2 separate regions of the Homo sapiens genome follow, and region 1 is linked to region 2. The links are contacts of gene promoters, found by promoter capture Hi-C in human tissues and cell types (Jung and others, 2019). All regions are on one chromosome and are shown on one strand. Each heading gives the region's core, a stretch centred on a gene start or on the middle of the fragment in contact. The rest is flanking DNA. Distances are from core to core; before and after follow the strand shown. Region 1 overlaps WIPF2 (WAS/WASL interacting protein family member 2). Region 2 holds the start of PGAP3 (post-GPI attachment to proteins phospholipase 3).

The links. The method cuts DNA at HindIII sites, captures the fragments that hold promoters and counts their contacts. A contact is called where the count stands out against the background at its distance.
Region 1: a contact is called between a fragment that was not itself captured here and the fragment with the promoter of PGAP3 in region 2, in 1 of the 25 tissues and cell types used here (aorta).

What each region holds. Positions count from the first base shown.
Region 1 is chr17:40,270,233-40,274,681 of GRCh38, forward strand. It overlaps WIPF2 (WAS/WASL interacting protein family member 2), which reads left to right. Exons shown (of 8, transcript NM_133264.5): 6 at 3,558-3,767. Among named protein-coding and RNA genes, the nearest start is that of CDC6, 15 kb to the right of the region's middle. The HindIII fragment of the contact is 6,236 bases long and covers 1-4,449 here.
Region 2 is chr17:39,686,062-39,690,295 of GRCh38, forward strand. It overlaps PGAP3 (post-GPI attachment to proteins phospholipase 3), which reads right to left and starts at 1,996. Exons shown (of 8, transcript NM_033419.5): 1 at 1,773-1,996. The coding sequence starts at 1,953. It also overlaps a transcript of ERBB2 not described here. RefSeq lists enhancers at 2,015-2,124, 2,835-3,795 and a silencer at 3,075-3,369. The HindIII fragment of the contact is 945 bases long and covers 1,346-2,290 here.

The DNA.
Region 1 (4,449 bases), core at 105-2,604, 580 kb after region 2:
GCGGGTGCCTGTAGTCCCAGCTACTGGGGAGGCTGAGGCAGGAGAGTGGCATGAACCCGGGAGGCGGAGCTTGCAGTAAGCCGAGATCGTGCCACTGTACTCAAGCCTGGGGGACAGAGCGAGACTCCGTCTCAAAAAAAAAAAAAAAAAAGAAAAATAACTGGATCTGACAAAGAGCCCAGAAGCTTATTGGAGACAGCAGAACCTGGCTGGGATGAGGGAGGGAGCTGGAGAAGCCAAACAGATCACTCTTACCCTGCTCTATTTTGCCATTCCAGGTCGTCTCATCGCTGTCACCTGCCTGGTGTCTAGCTGGTGTCGGTGTCCTTGTGAACCTGGCTAACCCTGTTTACCTTGCTGCCCTGGCCTAGGAGTAGATACAAATTCTCAGGGCCTTGAGGAATCTGGGTTTTAGGGAATATTTTTGAGGGCTTAAAGAAGCTTCTATTCTTAAAGAGCTTTAGTTTGAGTAGATTTGGAATCAAAACAAGGCTCAGAGATCTGCTGGGAGTTACAAGATTTCTCTTTAATTATTGCATCTAGTGTCCCCTGTTTCTACTGAACAAAGCTTGGAAACAGTGAGGAAGAGTTGACATTCTGAGTGTGTCTTACGGGAAGCAAAAACATTTATTGGGCTTATTGTGCCAGATTGTGTGTGTGTGTGTGTGTATGTTATTCTATTACTGTGTTACATGCTTAACTATAGTCACTACAGCAATTCTGATAGTAATCAGGAGGAATAATAAGATACTCTTTTCTTTGAGACAGTCTTGCTGTGTCACCAGGCTGGAGTGCAGTGGCGCGATGTTGGCTTATTGCAGCCTCCATCTCCCAGGTTCAAGCTCCTCCCACCTCAGGCTCCAGAATATCTGGGATTGCAGGCGTGTGCCACCACGCTTGGCTAATTTTTGTACTTTTTTAAAATTTGAGGTGAGGTTTCATCATGTTGCCCAGGCTGATCTCGAACTCCTGGCATCAAGCAATCTGCCTGCCTCAGCCTCCCAGAGTGTTGGGATTACAGATGTGAGCCACTATGCCTAGCCAAGATACCGTTTTACTACTAAAAACAGTTTTGTCTGTTAAGCTGAGTAGTCTCTTCACATACTATTTAGGTCACAACTATTTATTGGGCCACGTGCTGTGGCACATGCCTATAATCCCAGCCCTTTGCTGAGGCGGGAGCATTGCTTGAGCCCAGGAGTTTGAAGCTGCACTGAGCTATGATTCCACCACTGCGCTTTAACCTGGGTGACAGAGTGAGACCCTGTCTCTTAAAAAAAAAAAAAAATTGAACATGGCCTAGATACCAAAAGATGCACTTCCAAGCCACTGGATTGTAAATCTGGTTGGGAAGATACTATGCAGAATACTGGGAGTTACGAAAAGCAGTGTGGGAGAGTAGAAAGAGCAGACATGTGCCTTGCCTATTTTTATTTGATCTGTGACCTTAAACAAATAACCTGAGTCCCAGTTTTCTCATTTGTGAAATGGGGATAATATTACATACTTCGCATGTGTGGCTATAAGACTTTTTAAAGATTTAATACACCGAAAATGCCTGGAACATAATAGATACCCAATAAATGGTAGCTGCTATTATTGTTAGTTAATACAGAGCATAGGAGTAAGACAAACACGTTAGAATCTATTATATTCCAGTCATATTGCCATTTCTTGACACATGCTTTTGACGTTACCTTCTACTTGGTGGCAAATTTTCATCTTTTAAGAGTGAATTTGATTTTTGGAATCACCAAAAAGCAGATTCAGACATAGGTATGAACATTTTCTTTTTTTTTTTTTTGAGGCAGAGTTTTGTTCTTGTTGCCCAGGCTGGAGTGCAATGGCACGATCTTGGATCACCGCAACCTCCGCCTCTTGGGTTCAAGCAATTCTCCTGCCTCAGCCTTCCGAGTAGCTGGGATTACAGGCATGCACCACCACATCTGGCTAATTTTTGTATTTTAATAGAGACTGGGTTTCTCCATGTTGATCAGGCTGGTCTCGAACTCCCGACCTCAGGTGATCCTCCCGCCTCGGCCTCCCAAAGTGCTGGGATTACAGGCGTGAGCCACCGTGCCTGGCATAGGTATGAATATTTTCATTGGTGATGGTGGTGGGGCGACCTCAGAAATGAAATGTGACCATCATATAATAGTGTTTACAGCTCTGACTGATAAACTTGCTTTGGAGGCAATTCCAAAAGAGGTGTTTGCAGTGTTTGAGCAATGAGACTGTTACTGGACATATGTAACTTCCCACAATGAATCTGCTGTATATATTTTGAAAATCGCTCATTGATATTAGAGTAAGTGACATAGCCTGTATATGCTGTGGGAGAGCAGAGGTGGAGGGACTCAGAAGAAAATGGATTGCTTTGGGAAAGCCTTGAGAAGATGGGACTTGGATTGAACCTTGAAGGGTAGGGAGGATTTGGTAGTAAGGGAAGGGGGGATATCAGAATATTGTGAGGGGAGTCACAAGAGCAAAGCATATAATTTGGTTTATTCAGCAAACATTGATTGAGCACCTGCTGTGTGCTGTACATTTGGCTGAACTTGGGAACCCAGAAGGAGGAACTGCTCTGACATCAAGGGGTACACAGTATACTGGGGAAAGAGCACACAGAATAAATAATTATAATAGTCTATTCAAGTGGTAGGTATGCACAAGCTGCAGTGGAAGTGCAGAGGAGGGCTCCTAACCTAGCCTAGCAATAAGAAGGGAAGAGGAGAAGCCAAGCTCAAGCTGATTGGTGTGGTAGGTTACTATGTAAGCAAAGGCTTTGAGACTTTATTTTTTTACTTATTTATGTATTTGAGATGGAGTCTCTCTCTGTTGCCCAGGCTGGAGTGCAGTGGCACAATCTGGGCTCACTGCAACCTCCACCTCCCAGGTTCAAGTGATTCTTGTGCCTCAGCCTCCTGAGGAGCTGGGACTACAGGCACACGCCACCACACCGGGCTAATTTTTTGTATTTTTAGTAGAGATGGAGTTTCATCATGTTGCCCAGGCTGGTCTCCAACTGCTGAGCTCAGGCAATCCTCCCGCCTCGGCCTCCCAAAGTGCTAGGATTATAGACGTGAGCCATCACACCCAGCCACAGTTTGAGACTTTATGATTTAGGCAGTGCAAAGCCTTTGAAAAAACTGGATCAAGTTTTTAGGGAGGTTGGTGAGTTGGTGTTATGCAAAATGAATTTGGAGGGGTAAGAGACAAAGCAAGGAGAACATTCGGAAGGCTTTTGCAGTAGAGAACAGGCTAAATATAAGGAAGACCTGAATTAGAATTGTGGAGGAAGGCATGGAAAAGCAGGAAAAAAATCAAGAACAGATAGGGTTCTGACTGACTGGTAGGAAATGTAAAAAGGCCATACATTTATTCTGAATGTTGGTATCTGGAAGAATGGTGATGCTGTTCAAGTAATAAGGACAAAGGGGAACCAGGCACTGTGAGCCTCTGTGGGGTGTGTTACTCTTTTAGCTCATGTGTTTCAAGTCATTCTACCCCTTGCCGTCTCCACATCCAAACCTAACTACTTTGGATTTTAATTGCAGCTCCTCCACCCCCACCACCTGTGATCCGAAATGGTGCCAGGGATGCTCCCCCTCCCCCACCACCATACCGAATGCATGGGTCAGAACCCCCGAGCCGAGGAAAGCCCCCACCTCCACCCTCAAGGACGCCAGCTGGGCCACCCCCTCCTCCTCCACCGCCCCTGAGGAATGGCCACAGAGATTCTATCACCACTGTCCGGTCTTTCTTGGGTGAGTAGCTAGCTATCTGTAGTCTCATGGTTCCTGCGGTGACTTCACCCACTCCAGTGCCATGGCTGCTAGATGGCCACCATAGAGTGGGAATGGCCACATGGGATCCTTTGTTCACAATAGTTCTCCTGCTGACTTCATCCTCAGAGGTATGGGCTGTGTTCATTGACTTCCTTATCTTGATATGAATTCTAAGCATGGATGCTTTGGAGTAGATTGAAGTAAAATCAGCAAGTGTTGTGCTAACTCTAAATCCACTCCAAAGATCACTTTTTGTAGCTAGCTTTTAGGTCAGAGACTCTGTATCTTCTTTAGGATTATTCAGACAGGACTTATGTATTCTCCTAGGAAGGAGTGTTCCTTTCTAGCTCTTCAAAAACAAAACACTTGATTGTTCTTGGAATTATTATTTTTTAATTATTTTTTATAGAGACTGGGTCTCTGTTGCCCAGGCCGCTGTCAAACTCCTGGTCTCAAGCAGTCCTCCAACCTTGGCCTCCCAAAGTGCTGGGATTACACATGTGAGCCATCACATCCAGCCTTTCCTTGGAATTCTTGAAAAAAAAAAAAAAAAAAAAAAAAAAAAAAAGAAAAGTCCCATGGCACATTGCCTGGAAAGAAAAAAGAAGAAAGAATGACAAAAAATATTAAAGAAAAAAGGATTGGGCGTGGTGGCTCATGC
Region 2 (4,234 bases), core at 746-3,245:
GAGGAAAGAGAGAGCATGAATGGGGTCCAAGCGCAAATGTAGGCCAAGAGGGCCTGTAAGTTGGAGAGAACCAGGAGAAATCTCAAAATTCTAGCTTCCCCTTTGAATGAATGAGAGATGATGAGATGTACACATAGGGGAAGGTGTATGTACGTATGTATGCATATTTTAGTGAGCAATTAGAGATATTCGTCTTTTTTTTGTTTGTTTTTTTGAGACAGTTTTGTTTTTGTTGCCCAGGCTGGAGTGCAATGGTGCGATCTCGGTTCACTGCAACCTCCGCCTCCTGGGTTCAAGCGATTCTCCTGCCTCAGGCTCCCGAGTAGCTGGGATTACAGGCATGCACCACCACACCCAACTAATTTTGTATTTTTAGTAGAGATGGGGTTTCTCCATGTTGGTCAGGGTGGTCTTGAACTCCCAACCTCAGGTTATCTGCCTGCCTCTGCCACCTAAAGTGCGGGGATTGCAGGCACGAGCCACCGCACCCGGCATTTTTTTTTTTTTTTTTTTTTTGAGACAGGGTCTCGCTCTTTCATCCAGGCTGGAGTGCAGTGGGGAGAGCATGGCTCACCACAGCCTTGACCTCCTGGGCTCAAACGATCCTCCCACCTCAGCCTCCCAAGTAGCGAGACCACAATGTCTGGCTAATTCTTTTATTTTTTGTAGAGAAGGCATCTTGTCATGTTGCCTAGGCTAGTCTTGAACTCCAGGGCTCAGATGATCTTTCTACCTTGGCAGACATTTCCTCTCCTTTTGCTCAAGTCCATCAAGATGTTGGCATCTGATGAACTCATCTATGGAAACCTGGGTTTATATTTGTCCTTCCTGAATATAGGATTTGCTCTTACTCTCCTGGAAGGAGTTCTTGCTATCTTACTCCCTTCCTATGAAAATGAAGCCCAAATTCTTCAACCTGACTTTTGAGGCTCCAAATTGCCTTTCCAACCGTATTGGTCACTACTCCTGTTCATGTACCCTGCTCCCTGAGTAAATAAAGCTCCTGGATGTGCCCACATCTGCCCAGGGCATCCATTCTCTCTGTTCCCTCTGTCTGGAATGCAAAGTGGTATAATAGTAAAGAGGACAAGCTTGTGGTCAAACAGGCCAGAACTGGAAACTCCACTTTACTACATACTGGCTGTGTGACCTTGGGCAGGGCATTTAATCTCTCTAATCCCCATCTGTAAAACTGGGATTAGAGAAACTATCTCAAAGGGTGTGATAAAAATTACTTGACATATTGTGACACCTGTCACACAGTGAGTGCTCAATACGTTGGTTCTTTGCCCACTATGGTCCAAATCGAATGTACCAGTCCAAAGTCCCTCCTTCAAACAAAACGTTCCAAGATGATCCCTGCCCCCACGTCTTCAAAGCCGGAACTGACACCTTCCTATCCCAAATGCTTCCTAATCAAAGAGTCTTTCAGGGGCTCAAATCATTCTCTGCCTTGCACTTGAAAAGGCTCATGTCCCCGTGGGGACTGTGAGTCCCAATGGGCGGGACCCTGGTCTGATTTCTGTGCCATTCCTAGACATTGTGGCCCGAATGTATTTAATAAATACCCTTTTGACTGAACAAATAAGTAAATGAAAGCTTCTGGGAAAGTAAGAGAGGCTGGTAAGGCTCTCATCACCTTAGGGGCTTCACTCACATTCATAAGAGACCTCGTGGGGAAACTAAGGTTCAGGGATTGCAGAGGCGTATTGGGGGCGCAGGGGGCGGGAGCAAGACAAATGGGCGGGGCTTACCGTGGGGGTGGGGCTTACCTGCTAGACTCATGTAGATTGGCTGGCGGGAGCGGAAGTGATTCAGAGCGCCCCCAGAGCAGTTCTGCTCTTCGCACTGCAGTACGCAGTCGCGGTACACCGGCTCACGGTCGCCCTGGGAGCCGCTCGCCAGCGCCGCTGCCCCAGCTAGCAGGACCAACCGCGCCGCCAGGCCGGCCATCCTTTCTCCCTGGCTCGCCGCCGGGGGAGGAGCTTAGGAGTATGAAGCTTCCACTTCCGGAGTAACCGGAAGTTCCTGTGTTCTTTATTCTACTCTCCGCTGAAGTCCACACAGTTTAAATTAAAGTTCCCGGATTTTTGTGGGCGCCTGCCCCGCCCCTCGTCCCCCTGCTGTGTCCATATATCGAGGCGATAGGGTTAAGGGAAGGCGGACGCCTGATGGGTTAATGAGCAAACTGAAGTGTTTTCCATGATCTTTTTTGAGGTAGGGCTGTTTACTGTCACCACCCCTGTCGGATTTTACTTCCTAAACGTACCTGTAACTATCCACTTCTCTCCATCTCTTCTGGCACCACCCTGGTTAAAGACACCATCATGTGTCGCCAAGACAGCCGCAGTAGCTTCTTAATGGCTCTCCCTGCCTCTACTTTTGCCTCTTCCAACCTGCGCTCCATTTTGAAAAATTAAAATTTGCCCATATCACTTTTTTTTTCTTAAAATTATTTACTGGCTCCCAATTACCTTGGGTAAAATACAGTCTCCACAAACCCTGCCTGATTTGGCCCCTGTCCACTGGTCTCCCTCACTCCCTTGCTCCAGACCCGCTTCAGAGGGCTATGTCCCTCAAGCTTCCTGACTGCCTGGCCTGGTCTGAATCACTCACTCTTCTTTTTTCTTCTAGTCGCAATTGAAGTACCACCTCCCGAGGGTGATTGCTTCCCCATGCGGGGTAGAACCTTTGCTGTCCTGTTCACCACTCTACCTCCAGCACAGAATTTGGCTTATGGTAGGCGCTAACTGCGTTTGTTTGTTCTTCTGTTTAATGAATGAACAGCATACATCAACATAAGAACTTGACAAATCCAGGGCTGTAAAATCATCAGTATGGTTCTGCACTGAGATCGGAGAGAAGTAATATTTCTAGGAAAATTAGGAACCCTGGGAACAGGACGCTTGCTTTAGTATCCTCTCCCTGCTCACCTCCCCTGCACTCCCATCAGCACCGACCCACACCCAATCTCATAGAAGCCTTGTAGCTAAGGATCACCCTTTCTCCTCCCCCACTCTCCTCACCCCTTGTCAACTTTTCTTTTTCGTCCTGGGGGTTGGAATGAGTAAGAAGTAGCCTGGGATTCCATTCACTCACTTAACAAACATTTCTGAGTCCTTAGCTCTAGCACCTTGCTAAGCAAGGCAAAATCTCCAGGAGGCACCATTCACATTGCATTTTCTGTGAATGGTGCTCTGGGGAGCAGCATTCACATTGCCTTTTCTGTGAATGGCAAATTCTTCCAGTTAAATATAACATGAATAGTGTCCCCTGGAGTTGACCACCCAACTGATACTGACTGAGAAGCTGAAATGAACAAAACAACCCCTTAGCCCTCCAGGAGCTGACCGGAAATCCAGTGCTAATACTACTTTGCATCTTACAGATTAGTTCTTTTACAATACTGTTTTTTTTTCTTTTTTCATTTCATTTTGTCCTTTCTGTGACTCTGGGATGAGTCTTTTTATGAGGATCCTCATATAAAGATGGACATTTAGGATTAAAGAGGATGAAATCCTGACAAAATAGGGAGTCTCCCCTTTAGAAAATTCCTAAGTAAGGCTGGGGGTGGTGGCTCACGCCTGTAATCCCAGCACTTTGGGAGGCCGAGGCGGACGGATCACCTGAGGTTAGGAGTTTGAGACCAGCCTGACCAACATGGAGAAACCCCATCTCTACTAAAAATACAAAATTAGTTGGGTGTGGTGGTGCATGCCTGTAATCCCAGCTACTCAGGAGGCTGAGGCAGGAGAATCGCTTGAACCCAGGGAGGCAGAGGTTGTGGTGAGCCAAGATTGCGCCATCGCACTCCAGCCTGGGCAACAAGAGCGAAACTCAAAAAAAAAAAAAAAAAGAAAAAGAAAATTCCAATTTTGAAGGCCTCATCCTATATTATGTCAAACATACTGAAATGCAGTAACGCCCCACATTAAATAAGATTTATAAATAACTATACATATATATAATTCAATCTAATTGCTGTTAATAGTTGACATATTGCTACATTTATATACATTTAGTTAAAAAAAATTTTTTTTCCCAGACAGCCTCTCACTCTTTCACCTAGACTGAAGTGCAGTGGCATGATCACGACTCACTGCAACCTCAACCTCCCAGACTCAAGTGATCCTTCCATCTCAGCCTCCTGAGTAGCTGGGACTGCAGCATGCGCCACTATGCCCTGCTAATTTTTTTAATTTTTTGTAGAGACACGGTCTTGCTATGTTGCCTA